Regions from separate parts of the Homo sapiens genome. Here region 2 is linked to region 1. Evidence: promoter capture Hi-C in 16 types of primary human blood cells and fetal thymus (Javierre and others, 2016). All regions are on one chromosome and are shown on one strand. The core of a region is centred on a gene start or on the middle of the fragment in contact, and the rest is flanking DNA. Distances in the headings are between cores, read along the strand shown.

What was found. The method cuts DNA at HindIII sites, captures the fragments that hold promoters and counts their contacts. A CHiCAGO score of 5 or more calls a contact.
Region 2: a contact is called between a fragment that was not itself captured here and the fragment with the promoter of NPVF in region 1, in 1 of 17 cell types (M2 macrophages). The highest score is 5.0, in M2 macrophages.

What each region holds. Positions count from the first base shown.
Region 1 is chr7:25,224,797-25,230,057 of GRCh38, reverse strand. NPVF (neuropeptide VF precursor) reads left to right here and starts at 1,572. Exons shown (of 3, transcript NM_022150.3): 1 at 1,572-1,756; 2 at 3,032-3,432; 3 at 4,885-5,261. The coding sequence starts at 1,619. The coding sequence ends at 4,936. The HindIII fragment of the contact is 394 bases long and covers 1,280-1,673 here.
Region 2 is chr7:25,834,079-25,839,215 of GRCh38, reverse strand. No RefSeq gene overlaps it. Among named protein-coding and RNA genes, the nearest start is that of LINC03007, 47 kb to the right of the region's middle. The HindIII fragment of the contact is 3,501 bases long and covers 1,652-5,137 here.

The DNA.
Region 1 (5,261 bases), core at 323-2,822:
CAAAACTTGCCCCTTGATTCATTCATTTCTCAAAAGTTTGGATCTACTGACTACACACACATACATACACACACACACACACACACACACACACACACACACAAAGAAATTCCATCAGCAGTTTGCAAAAGAACAATTTGGAAGAGAAATGTATTAAATCCTCAGGGAAATTAAACCCAAATAATCCAATAATGGCATTACAAAATTAACGATAGACTATGAATTGAATTAATTGCCTCCTACTGTGGGGTTCTTGGCTACTACAAACCAAAACAAATGAAGCCAATGATGTCAAATGCCTTAAGAGAGACCATAGGCAAGTTTGTATCACAAGAGTTCACCCACTGTGGTTTTTCAACTTTCTGGCTTGTTCTGGAGATCAATATGAAGAAAGATCTTCACTTCTGCCATCTCACGTCTCAAATTACATACGGTAGGTTGGTGAGAGAGGTGAGAGGTGGCACAGTTCTAGACACAACAGAGCAATTTTACAACTCTTTGTGAATTACCTCTAACTGTCTGTGTCTAGAAGTAGCTGGACTGTAGGAAATCCATGCAAGTCTTTTTCTCCTGAAAGGGCTGAAGGGACTGGTGGGAACAAGTAAAGGTGTCTCTAGAACCCAGGCAGTCTAGTGATAAGGCAGATATTTAAGAACAGTCAGCTGCTCCAAAAGAGATTCGCTTTGGCATTTCAGTAAATGCGCATTTATTTCTGTAAATTCTCTTTTAATGTCATGATGACAGCACACCTTTGGCAATACGCGATTACCTAAATAATATGCGTCCTGGGACCAATAGAGTTAGCATGTGTATGACTTACCAAGCCCCTGCTAGTCTCCCTAAGGACTTTGAGAGGGAAGGTAGGATGCAGCATCTTGATAGAAAGTTTTGGTGATTGACACAGCTTTACCAAATAAGACCCATAGAGCAAATACAGAGGGCCTGACTGCCTCCAGCTTCTCCTGAGACGCCAGTTTGTCAAAATGCCTATCAAGTATTTGCTCATATACACATCCTTCATGTTACGGCTAACATTGACCCCTGAAGCTTTTTAATAACCAAACAGCATTTTACAAAAAAACTAATTCATGGCATTTTGTTGGGATATTATAATTTTTTTCACATTCTTAATTTTGCTTGACATTTTGAAAATACTACGCCTAACTCTTTTGTGCAGATTAAAAAAAAAAAAACATAGCTAGCATGGATTGAATACTTCCTTTTCCTTCCCTCAAGAATTGACACAAACACCAAAAACAAAATACTTTTTGTTTAAGCTTAGAGAAATGAAGCATTCTGTCTGTTTGGAATCTTAATTACTATCCCCCCAAACTTACCTAATTAGAAGCTCTTTTATAATGAGGAAAATTATTTTCAAAGTTAATGAATTTGCAAGCACAAACATTGCTGTCTTCCCAGAATGAATTATTCACATTCCTTACATGCATATTTTAGTTGTACACTCTAATTAATATTAGTACTTAAAATGTGTGAGATTGATTTCACTGTTTAAAAAAAACTTTCCTTTGTTTTTAGACGATATAAAAACACCACAATTTTTTTCTCCTCTCATAAACATTGGGCTGCACATAGAGACTTAATTTTAGATTTAGACAAAATGGAAATTATTTCATCAAAACTATTCATTTTATTGACTTTAGCCACTTCAAGCTTGTTAACATCAAACATTTTTTGTGCAGATGAATTAGTGATGTCCAATCTTCACAGCAAAGAAAATTATGACAAATATTCTGAGGTAAGTTTTTTAAATCTCTCTAATGTGAGTAGCATTAATTACATAATATTAATCCTAAGTCTAATGATTTTGTAAAGACTAAGAAGTAAGTTGGTGTGTACTCTGTTTTTTTGTGAAATTTCAGCCTTCCTCTGACAATGTATAAATGTCACTTGTTTATTTAGCACGACAGCAATCAGGCTGGCCTCTGTCATGACAATTGTACTGGTGAGTATGGTACTTAGCAAGCATACAGCGCATTAATAATTTTCAATCAACTCACAAGTGCATATTTGTAATAAATGGTTGGCAGAAATAAGATTTGGGTACATTTCAGCTGGACATTCAAATTGTTTTAAACTACAAACAAACAAACAAAAAACACATTTCTTTTGGGCTTAGCAATTACAAACTGGCCAATGTGTACTAAATCTATATCTTAGTAAAGTGTTTACCTGTAGATGGTAAAATTGCAAATTGTTTTTATTTTCTTTTATGTGTTTTCCAAATCTGATGAAATTAGCGTGTATACTCATTTTACTCAAGGGATAATCAGAAAACAATCATTTAAAAATTTCCATATGGACAAGCTCCTATGGTAAAGACTAAATCTAATTAAATATTCTCTGTATTTGAGATGGTTCCTACAAAGTTGGCATACTTGTGATGCAGTAACCCATAAACCAATGAGTTCTTTGCTAAAAATGTATTTTATATTCTAATAAAAATGCAATTGGTTTCTTGAGAAAGCTTTAGAGTGGTACCCTGAGTAAGATAGAATAAAAAAGAAATCCACTGGGCCTTCTACAACTATACCCCAAAACCTGGCCAGCATCTCTGTTTTGATGTACCGTGTTTCCATGTGCCACTTTGGCCTTTAAAGAGAAACATGAAAAATGAGTGGGAGGTTTCTCTAAAATCAAATTATAAAAATATATAAAATATTCCATAAGCAACATGAATCAAAAAAACCAAAAGAGAATAACTGCAGTAAAATAAACTTTTGCCACATTTCAGTACTTCATTATGTTCCTGCTGCTTGAACTCATTGCTGTATTCACTATATATATTTTATAAATATTTTATGGTTGTCTTACAATAGTCTAGGGACAGAGAAACTATATTGCTTTAAAAAGCTTAATACAAATCATTTAAAAATTCTGCACATATGAACACAAACTTTGTTTATAGCTTTAACAATTCTGCAGATTAAAGTCTAGATTTAAGTTAATTGGGGGTTTAAATCTGTTGCTTATAACAACAGTATGTTATTGTAATGGTCATTTCTAATTATAGCCTAGAGGATACCCAAAAGGGGAAAGAAGCCTCAATTTTGAGGAATTAAAAGATTGGGGACCAAAAAATGTTATTAAGATGAGTACACCTGCAGTCAATAAAATGCCACACTCCTTCGCCAACTTGCCATTGAGATTTGGGAGGAACGTTCAAGAAGAAAGAAGTGCTGGAGCAACAGCCAACCTGCCTCTGAGATCTGGAAGAAATATGGAGGTGAGCCTCGTGAGACGTGTTCCTAACCTGCCCCAAAGGTTTGGGAGAACAACAACAGCCAAAAGTGTCTGCAGGATGCTGAGTGATTTGTGTCAAGGATCCATGCATTCACCATGTGCCAATGACTTATTTTACTCCATGACCTGCCAGCACCAAGAAATCCAGAATCCCGATCAAAAACAGTCAAGGTAAATACCTGGAAACCAGTCAAAGTGCATGGGCAGTTATATAGAGGTGGTCTAGAAACTTTAAAAATGACTACATCTTTTCAACATAAGTTTCTAAGACAGTAAGTTTCCTAGCAGGAGAGAGAGGCAAAGACACAAGGAACTAAATACCTGTAAATTGGGAACTATAGAAGGCCAGGTATAATAAGCATGGCTCAAGGTATAAAATCATAGGATGGCTTCCCCTAAGCCACATATAAGCATCAATCTCCTTATCCTATAGCTGCTCACTAAGTCCATGCAATGACAGTATATTGTCTAAACGCTGGACCTCTCCCACATAAAAAGTCTCATGGGAGAGAGTTGTTCAGGTGCAAAGGACCCCATCTCAATAATCTAGGTCTCAAATGCAGCAGGTTTTCTTTCCTAACTTTTAATCAAAGTGTTTTCTTTTATCTGGATCTCATCTTATAAACTCTGTTATAATCATTATTTATATTAAGAAATATGTATTATCTCCTATGTACACATCAGAATGTAAGATTTAAAAATTAATAACCTACCTACCTGTTCTTTTATAGTAGAGAGCGTATGCTTAAAAAAAATTTTTTTTATATGAAGTAGAACATGATGCTTTAGTTAAGACCTGAAGAAAGTACAGTGGCAGATTGTGTCACCTTATCTGAGAGACCTTCTCAGGACACTCCAGGTTTGTTCTTTTCCATGGTACTTATCCCATCTGACATATATTTAGGGTTCATTGCCTTTATTAGAATTTCAGTCCTACAAATCCCATAATTTTTGTCCACTGCCATATGCCCAGAGCCTAAGAACTGTGTCTACCACATAGTAAGCCCTCAATATCTGACGGGATGAATGAAATAAGAGAGGCACTAATAAGGTCCTGCAGAGGGTCAGAAAAAAAGAGAGTGTTTCTGTATGTGGAAACCTGCCTTTCAAAAGCAGCTTTCTCTTGAACATTCGGAGACTGGTGAGAAGAGGGAGGTCATTTTTAGGCACTAAAGCAAGGTGAGCCAAGAACAGCCGAGGCGCCCTTTGGCAAGAGCAAAAAGGATGTGAAGAAGAGAGGAAAGAAGTCTAGACCGTTAGAGTAAGAGCAGAGAGCGCAGATATTGAGGACCCGGACAAGGACTTGGGGCGTCATTCATCAGGAGAGGGAGAACCACTGACATTTCTGCTGAGGTTGTGGGATGTTATACAGAGGCAGAATTGACAGCTAATCAGATGTTGGGAGTGGGGCGGTGTGGAGGGAGAGAGATGAATCAATGATAAGTGTTTGGGACTGAGTGCCCATCACAGATTCAGCATCCCCCCAATATCTCACTCATTTCAAGTGCAACACAATTCAACTCAAGTATAATTAGGCAGTTAGGACTATGGCTTGTATTTGTATACACACTTGCATGCTGTTGTTCTGATGGGTGACAACATTTTATACTGCTTACATTTTAGGAGACTGCTATTCAAGAAAATAGATGATGCAGAATTGAAACAAGAAAAATAAGAAACCTGGAGCCTGTCCCTAAAGCTGTGGCCTGTAATCTACAAATGGCTCTATAGCGAAGACCACACGGAAGAGTAGCTACATACACTTCATCAGCTATGGATCATCAACGGCAATTTTTCCTTGTCAGTACAGCTATAATAGTATCTTGAAAGTTGTAAAAAAATTAAAGCATATTTGTTACGTAAAGTTAAAATGATTTTTGTCTGAATAAAAAAAAAGCATTGCAAATGCTTTAGAAATCTCTGATAATGGAGAGAGAGACAGAGGACCCTCCTCACTACCCTATATAAAAATCATTGGCACAGTTACACTTAATAAAAAA
Region 2 (5,137 bases), core at 2,153-4,652, 610 kb before region 1:
TGGTTTCCAGTTCTGTAGGTCAGCTCTGGCTTGCTTTGGGCTCTGCTGAGCTCCACATTTCTTTCCATCCCAGGATGTAGGCTGGAGGAGCAGCCCCTCTCTGGAACACTCTTCTCATAGCAGAGGGTAGGAACAAAGAGGTTGACCCAAACGATTCAAGTACATTTAAAGCTTCTGCTTAGATGTGGTGTACATTTGCTCTCATTCCATTGGCTAAGGCGAGTCCCTTGGCCAAGCTTCCTGATGGGCCAGGAAGTACACTCCTCCCACATGGAAGCATGGCAAAGGTGAGGAGTGGCTGATACTTTCACAGAAAAGAGAGATGTTAAAATGCTGAAGTGTAAAGTACATCTTCAAGTGGGCGATTTTGTTTAGCAGAATTTCCCAACTTAATTGACCACAGAAATTTTTTTTTTTCTTTGAGGTACATCTTTTAGCACTCAAATTCCCTGGCGGACACTTTGGGAAATGCTGCTCTGGTCCATCTGGAGGTGTTATAATTGACCTTAGAAAAGACTTTCTTTTGGAGGTCTGGGTAAATGGAATATATGGAGTTCTGAAACTCATGTTTCATTGAGTGAGAACCAGACGTTAAAACCTTCCCACATCAGCAAGTCTAATGTTACTTTATTAGCTAACACTTCTTCAGCCTTAAAGAGCTGTCAAAAATAGATTTGGATAATAAACCTTAAATTCACATGCTTTCTGATCTTTGTGGATCATCAATGATCTCTTTAGGAATCATCCATGCCCCTAATCATCTTTTTTATTTTCTAATAATCCGTTGCTAAGGAATTATCATTTTCTATGTATTTCATCAAATAACAAAATCAAGAATCTCCATCTGGTTGTTTTTATGTCTCTCTCTAGATGATTACTGTCTTTCTTGGTAACAGATATGTGAGTAATAAATTGCTTTTAATGATGATGAAAAATTGCTTACTGAGCATTTGATATGTGCATGGCAGGGTGCCTTCACTCTGTGGACTTTGGCTACATGGAAAGCAGAGAAATAAAATTTAAATTAGGAACACATATTCTTTCTTTATAGCATAAGGTAAGTGTCTCATAACCTTGAAGTTAGGGGATACAGGTCATTGGCTAAAAGGATGGAAACCAGGGCATCCACATTCTAGTGCCAATCTGGGGGTACACTTGAACAATTTATTACAAGTCTTAGTCTTCTTATTTGCAAAATAAGAGATACTATGTGGAGTCTTCAAGAGGTTCTGCTAATGAAGACAGAAAAGATGAAGAAAGTATTGCAGAAGGATAGAAGTGTGCTACACAGTATAGTTTAAGTTGCAGTTCTTTTTATCCCAAATGTTTGATCTTTCAAGCCTTATTTTTCTAATTTTTAATTATAAAATATATATAACATAAAAGTGGCCATTTTAGCCATTTTAAGTGTACATTCATAGTGTTATACAACCATCACCACTATAAATTTCCAGAATTTTTTATTTCATACTGGAGCTCTGTACCCATTAATAAAAACTCTCCATTCCCCCTTACCCTCAGACCCTGGTAGCCTTTATTCTACTTTCTGTCTTTATGAATTTGCCTAGTCTACGTATCTTATATAAGCAGAATCATACAATATTGTCCTTTTGTGTCTTGTTTATTTCTCTTAACCTAATGTCTTCAAGCTTCATCCATGTTATTGCACTTAAAAAGGTGGGAATGTGATTTTTGGCTCTGCACTTAGCTTAGATCTGAATCAAATTAAGCCTCATCCAGGATGCTTCAACAATTTATAATTTAGTGAGGTTAGACTTGTTTTGGGCTCATAGGTGGTTTAAATTGGGCTTAAAAAGATTTATGCAAAATTCCAGTGCAATATTAGTAAGATCCAAAAAAGTCAGAACTTCGTTCCTTTTTAAGACTGAGTAATGTTTCACTGGGATAGTATTCCATTGTATGAACGTGCCAGGTTTTGCTTATCCATTCATCTGTTGATCTATGTCCACTTGGATTGTTTTCACGTTTTGGGTATTGTGAATAGTGCTGCTGTGGACATGGTGTACAGAACAAGTCTCATATTGAAGGGTTCCAGTTCACCTCTGCAGTCTTAAAGACTTGACACTCAACTGGGCAGAGGTACAGTATCTGGCGAGTAAAAGAAGGCAATTGGCAAATGGTTACACTTCTGGCTTGAAATGTTATAGGGTTAGTTTCTTTCCCCTTTTTTTCAGGGCAGATCTTTTCCTGGAATCAAGTTTGACTCCTAAAACCACCTTGGTGTGGTGGTGGAGCCCCAGGCGGATAAGAGCAGAAAGCCATTTGAATCCTGCTGCTTTACTTATTAATGGAGCCATTTGCTGTTGCGGAATTGAAAGTATTACAACTGAGTGACAGTTGTTTAATATTCTGATTACATGAACTTTGTGTGTTATGGTTTTGCCATTTGACATATTAGATTTCATAATGCAATTGAATTTGTGTGCTGGAACCATGTTTATTAACAGAGACTGACATGGTTCTCCTAAGAATTTACGTTAAGCTGACTGCAGTGATGTGGGAAGTCTATGGTGATAGTTGGGGGAGGCTGGAGCCCGTATGGACTAGAATCTTTTCTGTTTAAGTTTCACAAGAAAACTTCTTGGAGATGAAATCCATGTTTTCACTCATTTTGACATATTTTACAATGATGGATGTGAGATGGGGGAAGACTGGCTCAAAAATAGGAGATTGCTGAGGTCAAAAGTCAAAGGAATTGCTGTTTTTAAAGAGATTGTCCAAGGGGGAGCCACAGAAAAGCACTCAAACTGTCTGATTTTATTATTGTTTTCTCTCATAATGCCTTCCTGGCTGTGGGTATAAATCCATACTAGTTAACAAAAGTTTTGGTCGTATACAGCATTTTTTCAGGAGAATAAGATCTGCTCATTCCAAGATAGGTAACTGGGTCTAGAGCTATTTTTCAGTATAGTTATGGCCTAAAAACGTGGCAACATGATTTTTGCCTCGGCCCTCAGCTTACATTTGAATCAAACAAGGCCTCACCCATGAGGCTTTAATAATTATTAACTTAGTGAAATTGGGCAGGTCCTGGTCTTTAAAGTAGTTTAAATTGATTCTAAACAGATTTATGTAAAATTCCAGTGTAATATTAGTAAGATCCAAATAAATAAAAACTTCATTTCGTATTCTGGGAAATTATGGTTTTAAACTAGCAGAGAGAGTCTGTATGGTTAAAAATTATACAGCAAACAGACGGGCTATACCCATATCCAGGTTTTAATTTTTAAAATTATTATATATTAATTTTTTAAACTTACGAATATAATTAATTATGAAGGTAATATTACAGCAAATATATAAAATAAAATACTGCTTACCCATAATCTAACATCCTAAAGCAGCTTCTAATGTGTTTTGGCACAATTATTTATAGTCTTTTTCCTCATTGTAACTATTTAGCTATTTTTCTTTACATATTTATAATAATAATTTAAGGACAGTGTTTTATCTTGTTCTTCTCATTTAATATTGCATTAATATATTCCCCATGTTTCTACATTGTCTTCATAGCCATAATTTTAAGTGGCTTAATGAAAGGGAAGTGTGTAATGTAGAGCTTTCTGCCTATTTCCAGTTTTAAACTAAACCAGACTATAAGCATATGCAGATTTATCGTTCAAGATTTCAGGTATTCTCAGGCAATCCAGAGGTCCATGGAATGTGGTAATTAGTAATTTTACTGAAGCATTGGGGGAATGTGAGTCGCAAGACTGGAACTCAGGAGCTCACCAGCTAGAACACCAACTGCTTACTCAGTATAAAGATATTAACATAGTTTGCCTATTCTCAATTTGTCCCACAAGCATTTTACAGGGGGAAATTATTGTATTAGTTAATTTTTGCTGCATAACAAACCATCCACATTTTAGAGGCCTAAAACCACAAACATTTATTATTTAGTGCGTTATTCTGTGGCTGGCTGAGATGGCTGGGAGAGTTCTGGCCCGGGCAGACTCGGCTGGAGCTAGATGGTCTAGCATGGACTCAATCACATAGTTGGGTTGGCAGGCTGTTGGCCAGTGCCTTGGCTTTTCAGTATGTTTCCTCTCTAGCATCATAGCCCTATCTTGGGCTTATTTGCCTTAAGGTCTCATGGTTTCAGGTGCAGAAAGAGAAAACAAGATTTATGTGCAAGCGTTTTTCAAGCCTTTTTTGCTTGCATCATATTTGCTAATATTCTGCAGGCCAAAGCAAGTCATATGGCCAAACCCAGATCAAAGGATGAAAAAAGAGACTCTATTTCTTGATGGGTGGGGCAGAAATATCACAGGGCAGAGGGGCATGCAGACAGGAATGGAAAGAATTATTGGAACCATTTTTGCAAATAAACCAACACAATTTCATATATAGATGTACAGTCAAATTTGGGAATCTTTAAAAGTCCCTGGCAGATTCCTCCACAAACCCAAGGCCCACACAACTTGTAATTCATGGGAAGGGGGAGCTTCCAGTTATGGGCAAGTATTGTAAATAATACTTTAATGTACTTCTTTGTGTATATAGTTTTTAAAATATTTTGAGTTATTTGGTCAGGATAGAGTCCCAGAAGAATTCTTGGGGTAATGAAAACGAGTATTTTTATGTCTTTTAATATTTGCTTTCCAAAAAGTTGTGTTGAATCATGTCCTGTCAGCAATGTATGTTTGATTACCTATTTCACTATACTTCAGTGTTAAACTGAATGTTAACATTAAGAAAATTTTATAGTGAAAAGTTAAAAAATGGTATCTAATTTCTAGGGGTGTGGATTCTGCCATAAGAGAATTCTGCAGACTGGGTGGCTTAAACAATAGAAATTGATTGTCTGCTAGTTCGGGAGGCTTGAAGTCCGAGATTGAGGTGTAGACAGGTTTAATTTCTTCTGAGACCTCACTCCTCGGCTTGCAGATGGCGGCTTTTCTCTGTGTGCATGAAGCCCTAGTGTCTCTTCCTCTTTTTATAAGGATAACAGTCATATTGGATGAGGGTTCCACCCTTATGACCTCATTTAACTTCAGTTAACTCTTTGAAGGCCCTATTTTTCCAAATACAGTTACATTGGTAGTTAAGTCTTCAACATAGGAATTTTTGGGGAACACAATTCAGTCCCTAACAGGGTGGATCTAAAAGCTGT